Linked DNA regions of Homo sapiens: region 2 is linked to region 1. The links are contacts of gene promoters, found by promoter capture Hi-C in blood cells and fetal thymus (Javierre and others, 2016). All regions are on one chromosome and are shown on one strand. Each heading gives the region's core, a stretch centred on a gene start or on the middle of the fragment in contact. The rest is flanking DNA. Distances are from core to core; before and after follow the strand shown. Region 1 holds the start of TPR (translocated promoter region, nuclear basket protein). Region 2 holds the start of ARPC5 (actin related protein 2/3 complex subunit 5).

The links. The method cuts DNA at HindIII sites, captures the fragments that hold promoters and counts their contacts. A CHiCAGO score of 5 or more calls a contact.
Region 2: a contact is called between the fragment with the promoter of ARPC5 here and the fragment with the promoter of TPR in region 1, in 1 of 17 cell types (naive CD8 T cells). The highest score is 7.8, in naive CD8 T cells.

The regions. Positions count from the first base shown.
Region 1 is chr1:186,372,556-186,377,911 of GRCh38, reverse strand. TPR (translocated promoter region, nuclear basket protein) reads left to right here and starts at 2,659. Exons shown (of 51, transcript NM_003292.3): 1 at 2,659-3,034; 2 at 4,449-4,553. The coding sequence starts at 2,884. ODR4 (odr-4 GPCR localization factor homolog) reads right to left here and starts at 2,074. Exons shown (of 14, transcript NM_017847.6): 1 at 1,938-2,074. RefSeq lists enhancers at 2,045-2,234, 2,405-2,454, 2,615-2,914 and a silencer at 3,475-3,524. The HindIII fragment of the contact is 6,872 bases long and covers 1-4,529 here.
Region 2 is chr1:183,633,197-183,638,242 of GRCh38, reverse strand. ARPC5 (actin related protein 2/3 complex subunit 5) reads left to right here and starts at 2,460. Exons shown (of 4, transcript NM_005717.4): 1 at 2,460-2,726. The coding sequence starts at 2,584. It also overlaps a transcript of RGL1 not described here. RefSeq lists silencers at 2,177-2,336, 2,817-2,866, 2,947-3,006, 2,958-3,176 and enhancers at 2,487-2,766, 2,764-3,264. The HindIII fragment of the contact is 3,712 bases long and covers 1-3,429 here.

The sequences.
Region 1 (5,356 bases), core at 1,410-3,909:
CACCACACTCGGCTAATTTTTTGTATTTTTAGTAGAGACGGGGTTTCACCGTGTTAGCCAGGATAGTCTCGATCTCCTGACCGTGTGATCTGCCTGCCTTGGCCTCCCAAAGTGCTGGGATTACAGGTGTGAGTCACCATGCCTGGCCTTCCTAGCTCTTTTTTGACAACAATAGACGTGAATCAGATTTGCATATCATTTTTTAGAGACTAAGTCTAGGAATGCTTGTCTAAATATCACTGTTGCCTCTGTGAAGTTAAGGGCTTTTACCTTTTAGTAATGCCTTAAGGTATGCAATTCTATGTATCTACTTTCCTCTATATCATATTATACTCCTTTTCCTTCTGGTCTAATAATTCTTAATTCTTGCAACAAATACAAGTAATTCTAAAGTTATATTTAACCTTTTAACCTTATTTCTTCTAGGGTGTCACCTAGTAGCCATATTAATGTGTAAGAAACTGAATGTAATAGGGAGATGAAAATCTATTCAATTATGAAATCTGATTGAATGTCAGATAAATTTTTCTTTAGTGCTCTTTCAAAATTTTTAAATGTAGTCAACCATACTTTATAAAAGGCAGTACTAAAAATGTATATAGTCAGCTTTCCACATCTGTGGTTTCCACTTCCATGTATTCAACCAACCACAGATTGAAAAATTATTTTTTTAAAGCATGATTACATCTGTATCATTAAAGATGTTTTTTCTTGTCACTATTCCCTAAACAATATAATATAACAACTATAGCATTTACATTGTATTAGGTATTATAAGTAACTTAGAGATGATTTAAGATATGCAAATGCTACACCATTTAATATAAGGAACTGGAGCATCCATGGATTTCATATCCATGGGGTGGGCAGGTGAGAGGGTCCTGGAACCAATGCCCCACGGATACCAAGGGACAACTGTATTTTGCCTTATAGGGTCATAATTTTCCAGAAATGTTGTATATCAGCCAAAGCCTTTGTGGTCCAAGCACTGTGACTGACACAACTCAACCTTTCTGGGCTCTGGTTTCCTAATCTATAAAATAAAGCATTTGAATCCTAGCAGATCTGAAAACCTATCTAATTTTAGGATTCTGTGAATCTAAGTACAGAAAAATCTACATTTCCCAAATGACAGATCAACAGTATGATAATACTGTGGGCTTAGGACATAGCATAATACTTCATATACCAGCAACTTTAATTACAATGCTTATCTAAAAAATATTTTTGGGGAAAAATCAACCTTAAGCTCCGCTGTTGATTTATTTTTCCTTAGTTATTACAAAATATCATAAAATGCTTCCATTTATATTTCTTAGACGGCTTCACAACATGATTCAAAAGTAAGAACTAGAGAAAAAGAATAAATTTCATATAAGAACTAAATCACCAATTCACAGAAGGCCCACGACTGTGGGAACTGCAGAGAGACGACACTGGGAATGCATTATTTACAATGAATAATTTAACAAATTCTTTCATAAGAGTAAACACGAAACAATCTACGGATTGAGCTTTAAAACTACAGAATTATGATCTGGAACCATACAAGTTCTGTTACTGTAGAAATTAACAATGTGTTTAAAAACTTCAGTTACAACAGTTTTCAATTTTAAAAACAATATAATGTTAGGTAACCGTTTCTGCAACGAAAAATTTAAAACATAGGCTACACTCAAAGTGCTACCGGTTTCTTTTAATTCTCCTCCTGAAGAATTAACCCGGGTCCTTAAATTCCCGGGTACTGAATCACTCAGTGCCACCTCCCCACCACCAAAAACCATTTAGGTACGCCGTTTCACACAAGGTAAGTTCGTCAGAAGTGTGTGCCGGAGTGACTGTCCATATGGTTCCAACACTGTCCCTTCCTTTTTCTCTTGAAAAGAGAGCACACACACACACACACACACACACACACTACACTTAGGCTGACTTACCTGTTTTCAGAATGTGCACTCGTGGCAGACAATTACCTCGGACGGTCTCTCCGCCGGAGATGGGGGTTTCGGGCCCAAGTACCAGCCTCTAGGGGCCAGATTCCCTCCGGTCTCAATTCACTGCCACTGAATTCATCAGAAAGCGACCTACTTCCCACACCTCACTTCCCACTCCAAAGCCAGGGACTTGGGAGTCAGGTGGCGCAGATTGATGACGTAAAAGCCCCCCCTCCCTTCCCCGCAGAGCCTCAGCCAAAGCGACTGCGGTCGCCACCCCGCCCCCTTCTGGGCGCCATAGAGAGCGTGGCGGTATCCCGGAGCCTGCCGTCCGGCCCTACCGGGACCGATGCCCTCTAGTGGCTCAGTGTCCAGAAGCCGCCAACGAGGACGATCCATGGCATCCCGGGGCTTTGACGGTAAGGTCACCAGCTCTTCAGGGAGGGCCAAGGGGTGACGAGTACGTATGTGGCGCCACCGTGCGGACAGCGGTTACGGGGCCGAGATAGGAGAGCCAGGGGAGCGGGGAGAAAAACGGAAGCTGAGAGGGCGGTGCAGCATTGGGCTCCCGGAAAAGAATGAGAAAAACACTACATTTCCCAGAGCCCTACAAGGCCTGAAGTGGGTGGAGCTGGAAGCCGGAAAATTGGGTGCGCAAGAGGATCAGGGATAGCCTCTGAGCTCGGGTTCCCAGGGTTCGTAGCTTCCAACGGCTGCGCGCGCACTTCGGTCGCGGGCGGTGAGGTGCTGTTGCTGAAACGCTGCCGCTGAGGGTGGACTCGATTTCCCAGGGTCCCGCCGCGGGAGTCTCCGGCGGGCGGGCGCGCGCGAGCCACCGAGCGAGGTGATAGAGGCGGCGGCCCAGGCGTCTGGGTCCTGCTGGTCTTCGCCTTTCTTCTCCGCTTCTACCCCGTCGGCCGCTGCCACTGGGGTCCCTGGCCCCACCGACATGGCGGCGGTGTTGCAGCAAGTCCTGGAGCGCACGGAGCTGAACAAGCTGCCCAAGTCTGTCCAGAACAAACTTGAAAAGTTCCTTGCTGATCAGCAATCCGAGATCGATGGCCTGAAGGGGCGGCATGAGAAATTTAAGGTGGAGAGCGGTAAGTGAGATGCTCTTTCCGTCCTTGGTTTTGGGCTCGACTCCCGCCCTTTGGGTCTGGTCTTCCCCCATCAAGTTGGCACTGGGTACCGCTCTGTTAACCTCACTTCCTGGGCTCTGTGGATATCCTGAGCCTTCGCTTTCCTGCTCCTTACAGTTTGATAAGAAGCCTTTGAAAAAAAAATCTGAATCTAAGTTCAGTAGCATTTTCTTTGTAGTTAGGGTAGGCTCATACAGGGACGCTTATTTTCCTTCGTCCGGCAGACGGGAAACAGACTTGATAGAGTCTGCGAACCCATCTCTCTAAGCCTAGAGTACCTTATATGTTTTGTTGCACTTCAACTGATAGTGGCTCCGCCCTATTTTCTAGGCACCTGCATTCTAGGCCTTTGCCAAATTGACCACTCTGTGCACTTGTTCTTAGTGTGTGCGTCGTCCCGTGGCTCCAGAACGAATCAGATGTTTACAAAAATGAATATTAGGTGCATAAGAGCGCTGGAAACACAGTGAATGTGCAGTACATAAATTTAATATATCTTGATTTCTCTTAAAAAGTTGGAGTTTGATAGAAAACATTAAAATTTTCTTGTAATTACCTAAAGTAGGCCTTTAAGTAAGAAAGTTACTGACAATAATGGCTTGAACATCCTTGAAAAAAATATGAAGAATATAGTCATTACCATTAGTAAAATACAAACTTCCCGTTAATGTGTTTTGGTTTACCATTTGTTTGGGGAGGTTCATACTGTTCTTGCTAAGTTGACTGGAAATTCTGAACAAGTTTTTACTTCAAAAAAAGTGTAACTGTCAAGCAGAATTGACCTTGAAAATTAGTTCTCTGATCCCAGAGCTGAGTATAGTACATTGCATTCTATTTATTAATTTGCACCATAAATATTGAATGTCTTACATGTTCCTGATACTATGCTGAACATGATATTCAATCCCTTCCCTTGGAAAGTTTACACATTTACTTTTACATATATTTAGTAGTTTTATGCTTTCAGGTAATATCTTGACTACTATAAAAGAAGTCTTTTAAAACAAAGGAGTTTTTTTTTGTCTAAACAATTTTTTCTCGTGTAATAAATACTTTATTTATTAAGCAGTTTACTGATGTCTGGAGAAAATACTAAGATAAATGAGGTTACCTGCCTTGAAGACATTGATTTGTAAAGCCCCTTTTAGGCCTTATTTTTATTTTTTATTTTTTGTCATGTAAGTCGTTTGGAAATGCTTTAAGTCCTTTTCAGTGCTCAGTCTATTTATCTTTACTCAGATTCTCTTATGTGGAGCACAATTCTAATACTGTATCTTAAGTTTTAAAATCAAGGTTATTAGAAATAAATAACAGTATTCACAATGTATGTACATGTGTTTGATTTTGTTTTTTGTTTTTTGCTTGTCTGCTGTAGAACAACAGTATTTTGAAATAGAAAAGAGGTTGTCCCACAGTCAGGAGAGACTTGTGAATGAAACCCGAGAGTGTCAAAGCTTGCGGCTTGAGCTAGAGAAACTCAGTAAGTATTTAATTCATCTTTGTAAGTATTCTCGGAGTATCGAAATCTTCAGAGACTCCTTTATATACTTTGGAAACATTTGCTTACTAAACATGAAAATATTGATTAAGCATCATTGGTTTTTATTATGGTGATATTTTGATTTTTCACTTAGTGGTAAAGATTTTGTGAGAACACAGAATTTAATGGTCAGGAGGTCTGGATTCTTATTCTGATTTTGCTATTAAAATTGCTTTTGCCACATGTAAATCTTAACAGTATCTGATTATTGTTTATAAAATGGTTAGACCCACATGTCTGTCTACCTAGACAGCTTTGTAAATCAAATGAGATAAGAGTTCTTGAAATCTTTTTAAAAAGGTGAAAGCATTATGCAACTAAAGAAGTAGAGAGTGGCTTGTTTTTATGTTGAAGAATCGAAGCCTATTGATTTCATTATATTTATGTTTTAACTCCATTTTTTAATAATTTTTATAAATATCTATGAATCTCAGGATATTTCCCCTTTAAGGCCTAATTCCTATAAAAGATTGATAGCTAATCTCTTTCTTACTTTTCTTACATCATTAAGTTTTAGAAAGTTCACAAGATGTTAAAGATCCTGACATTTCTTAGGAGGATGATATGTCTTGTGCTTTGCTTTTCCCATCCAAGTTCTGACCAGGCCCCACCCTGCTTAGCTTCCGAGATCAGACGAGATGGGGTGCCTTCAGGGTGGTCTGGCTGTAGACTGCTTCTGCTTTAAGAAAGCAAACATCAGAACATTAGGAAAGATCTCTATAAAGGTGTAATTAATTTTTTTT
Region 2 (5,046 bases), core at 1,211-3,710, 2.7 Mb after region 1:
CAATCAAAATAATTATACCCTTGAGCAATCGATTATTTAAATTTCTTTCACTATTCCCTTAAGCTGATTTCTACTCTGGGATTCTTTCATAGTTCTCAAATAAGAAAATAAAAAATTTCCTAAATAAGGCAATACAAAAGAATAGAAATGTAAGAGAAGAGATATATTAGCTCTTGAATCCCTGTTTCCATTTGCTGTCAATAGTGCCTCTAATGTTCGATTTTCTCTTCAAAGAAAAATCTTGATTTAAAAGAAGAAAAAGTACAATCACCTTTAACAGCTAAAGTATACTGATTAGCATCTACTAAAGTTAGCAAAGACTGAAACTGAAAAAAAATTGTAAAATCTTTATTCTAAGTTATATAACGCCATTCACCATAGTAATGATTTTATACTTTGGTATATGGCTTTTTAAAATAAATATTGCCAACAGGTAAAAATTTTTCCTTTGCTGTCTTAAGGCATTCCTAAGAGAATTTTTACCAGTGTGTGTTCATAACTTGAATGTTAATTTAAACAATGTTACTTCTATCACCTAAATGATATACTTATAGAAGAGTGGTTTAATTGGGAACAGAAAAACACCACATTGCTTCTTCCCAAGAAAAAGGGATGTATTCCATTCTCGAGGTCTCTCTCCCACTCTCTATTTATATATAATATACTGCATAGATAAATATACACACATTATATATGTATTTTTTTGAACTTAAAGAAGACTGGACATATGTATTTACATGTATATATCCAACAAATATTTAATTTTGAGATCTCTCTCCCTCTTCTGATTTATTATTCTCAGTATGATTCTCAAACTGTACGGTCTTTCACATTTCATTCATTCATCAAGCATGTATCGAGTCCCTTCTGCATGCTTAGCTTTTTGTCATATGGAAGGAAGATACAAAAGAAAAACTGTTTCTGCCCTTCAGAATCTTTCCATCTCTTCTAGGAAGGAGATAAAACACCATATATCATTAAGAAATTTATAAGACTAGTCCCAAAACCAATGGTACAAGCAACATGCATTTTACATTTATGTAGAATTTTAGAGCTTGGAAACACTTTCGTGATATATAATCCTAAGAACAATCTTGTAAAGTGCACATTATTAGCTCCATTTCAGTGATGAGGAATCTGAGACAGAATTTTAAGTGACATGTCTCGTTCAAACATTATGAGTGGAAGAGTCAACACTTAAGCCTGAGTTTTCTGATTCTAAGCCTAGTGCTCTTTTCAACACAGCACTGGAAACCAAAGATTGTGGTACACAACAGGGCAACAGCCAGTCTTCTGCTCGAGGTCCAACTAAACTGGACCCATACCGAGCAGTGTCCAGCCAAATGTCCAAATTAATTTTATCCTGCAAATATTTGTTCTTCAGTGTAATACACACAGCACAACTACCATTTCCTTCGTCTTAGTGCCTTTATCTCCTACATTCCAGAAATGGGGATGTCAAATATTTTTTTAAATCTGGCCTAGATGGAATCATATAAATCTCAAATCATAATATAAATCTTAAAGGTCTGGTTTCCACCAATCCTTCCACATTTTGTTTTCCCCCAGCACTAGAGAGCCTAACCTACCCTCACCCCTTTCGAGCATTCTTGCTCCAAACGACCACCTATTTTAAGATGTCAATGACCCTTTCCCAAATTCTACAAATTCACCCCAGTTTTGCCACCCGACCCCAGCGCCTGCCCGGACACGTTCCCCTCCCTCCCAATAGATTTGATACCGAGTTCAGGTTCTGCAGATCCCGTTGCGATGCTGTCACACAGCACTGACAGATAAGATTTGACCTTTCGACTCCGTCCTTGGGGACTTCCCGCTGGCCAAGAAGGGTAGTTCCAATCCCAGGAAACGGGCTTCCTGCTCAGGAACGCAGCCTCTAGCAGCGCACAGTCTGAGGCAATGTCTCCGGCAATTAGAACGATGCTGGGCGCCCGGGTGTGCATCACTCTGCCTCATACTCCTACCAACTGCAGGGCACTCGGTCCGGCAGCCAGTCCATCCCACCCACAGCCAAGTCCCAGCCAGCCGGACCTTACGCAGGACCCCGATGATAGGTCGTTGACGGCTGCAGCAAAAGCCAAGGCCACCTGCCGCTGCTGCCCATCCCCGCCAATCTGAGACCCCCTAGACTGGACCGCAGAAAAGCGTTTCTATGGGAACCCCCCCACCGAGAATCACGTGACGCAATCGGACGACCAATCGCTTCTTACCTCTGCCCGCGGTCCAGCTTTTGGCCCTCCCTCTCGCCCCCGCCTCCTTCGCCCAGCCCCGCCCCTTGCCTGCGGAGAGCCCGCGCCTGCGCGCTGTGTCCTGCGCGCTCCTTCCCTCGCGCGCGCTCTCCGTGGAAGAGCAGGGGCAGCGTGGGAGGCGCCAAGGGAGCGCGAACCTGAGGAGGAAGAAACGGGGCTAGCGCGCAGGCCCAGAACGGTCCGAGCCGCGGCAGTCGGCGACGCCTCAGAGCGGAAGAGGGAAGTGAATCAGGCGCCGGGTAGTGGGTTGCTGGGCTGGGCTTGCTGAGGTAGAGGCAGCGCCAAGAAGAGGCCTTTGCCGCTGGTCGGGATTGGGATGTCGAAGAACACAGTGTCGTCGGCCCGCTTCCGGAAGGTGGACGTGGATGAATATGACGAGAACAAGTTCGTGGACGAAGAAGATGGGGGCGACGGCCAGGCCGGGCCCGACGAGGGCGAGGTGGACTCCTGCCTGCGGCAATATCCTTGCATTCACCGCCCTCCCCACCCCAGCCCAGCCCAGCCCGCCCTTCTCCTGGGACCCGGGAGCCTGCAGGATCCGCGGGGCACCGGCGCGGAGCTGCCCTCTCAACCTGCGGCTTAACCTGTCTCTTTGGGATCGCCCGCTCTGAGAGGGCAAGGGGGAAGCCCCCGTTTCCTACCCAGTCGGCAGGAGACGCGAGGGTCCCACTCTTGGAAGCCTGCCCTCCCCCGCGCGCCTTCCACGCCCCCAGATTCCTCAGGTTGCACCCGAGTGCCTGCCTGCCTCGGGAACTGGTCCCGCCGGCCGCGCCCTCGCGGCGCTGGGGAAGGCGGCCCCGGCTGGTGGGGAAGGCTGGTGCCGAGCGCCTTAGTTTTTCTTCCTAGAACTCTGATTTCCTGGGGTCACATTAGCTCCAGAAATTTCTGATTGTGGGGAACCTGCATCTTTCCTTAGTGGTTTTGTTTTTTGTTGTGTTTTTGTTATTGGTAGCGTTAAGGTAGTTTATTCCTTACCGGGGGGCGGGGGGAGATGGGACTGTTCGAAAATTGAGGGTCCCTGTGCTTTCAGCCCATTGGCCTTTTTAAAAAAAAAAAAAAAAGAAGAAGAAGAAGGGGATTTGGCAAAATATACATTGTACAGAATTTGTTAACTGGGGGAGGGGAATGAATACAAAAAATACAAAACTCCTAGAAGGAAGCTTGGAGCCTTTTACCTGCTAAGAAAAGGACAATAGAAAAAACAACGGGGAATGCGTGTGGAGAATCCTTGGAAATATTTAAAATAAACCCCAATGAATAAGATAGAAGATGAGTCATTCGTATAAAGCAGAATCATTTTTGTAATCCTAAAATTGTTTCCATTTTAGTTAAAATATGGCAGTCAGTTCCCGGTTTCTGTTTTTGCATATTTGAATATTCATAACTTTGGCTTCGCATTTGCATTACATCTTTTTTAGAAAAATGTAAATGTTGCAAAAAAACCGAAGCTGTAGTTTTAGAAAATCTCAGACACTGAATTTGTATGCATTTCTAATTCTTGGGTGTATTCATAAGGAAGACTCTCAACAATGTCCTGTTATAGTGGGGAAATATGAGAGTGAAAATATTTAATGGCAACAATATCCTTTTTTAAAGGCACCTAAATAGAGCATTAGACATTTATCAATATATAGATAGTGCTTTGCCACAACTTTCACAATTAATTAGCTGTTGCTCTTTTGCATTATTTAAATACTTAAGTGCTTGGAGTTATAAAAAATGAGCTAATCTACATCAGGCATGCTTCTCTAGAAATCCCTGCAGCCTTGAAAATAACAGCTTGTCAACCAGAGATTTTGTGTAAGAACTTTTTCTTTAGAAAATAAATGGTGAACATGCTTCCTAAAAACATTATTTGTGATGGATAGATGGTGTTTTATGAAACCCCAGTGTATTTTAGGTAATTTGTGGTGACTTTTAAATGGTACTGCTGTATCCATATCAGTGGATCTGCTTTTTGATCAGTTCATCTTAAAATATAAAGATACTGTCTCTTCTTACCGTTACATACAGCCAGGAAAGACAGCCCTAGTGGTGGGGTACTAGAGTTGGAGGAACAAGTGAACTCTGTGGTTTTCCTTTTAGGGGAATGTTTGTACATTCTGACAGTCTGATTGGCCTTCTGTTTCTCATGCTTGCTAACTCACTAGTGCTTTCAAAGAGAGCCTGAATTTAATAGGTATGGTCTAACACAGTTTGAATAACCTTTGTGAAATATGAGAGAAAATATCTAAAGCAAAAAATTAAGCTGCCACCTAAGGGACATATGAATTATTACATCTTCTGTGATGCCTCTTTTCATCAATATTGAGAGATTGCTAATGTGTATCATTCAGATTGCTAATCTGCCAGCATGTTCTACCAGCATTTCAGATAATACAGAATATGGTTCTAGCAAAAGTTTGGTCTTTATTTTTTCAATTAGAATCACAGGAAAAGACATATTTTGGTTGATAATAGGTTATTTCATTTGGGGGACTAATAATTCTGATATATATTTTAGGATTTCTTTAACACCACTCTAGGTAATGTTTGCATATGTATCTCACTGGGAAATGAAAGACTATCAAGGTGTTCACTTGATAGTTAGAACCAAGGGTGAAACAGTCTTTGCTTTATTAAAAAAAAGTCTAATGTTCTATTTTGCTTTTGATATTTTGCCTTTGATTAACATCCTGGAAACCAACACATTGAATTTCCAGTATTGAACATAGTGACCAAAGTAATTTTCTTTTTATATGTAAATCAAGTCATAAGAACCAGTGGTTATAATGCTTTC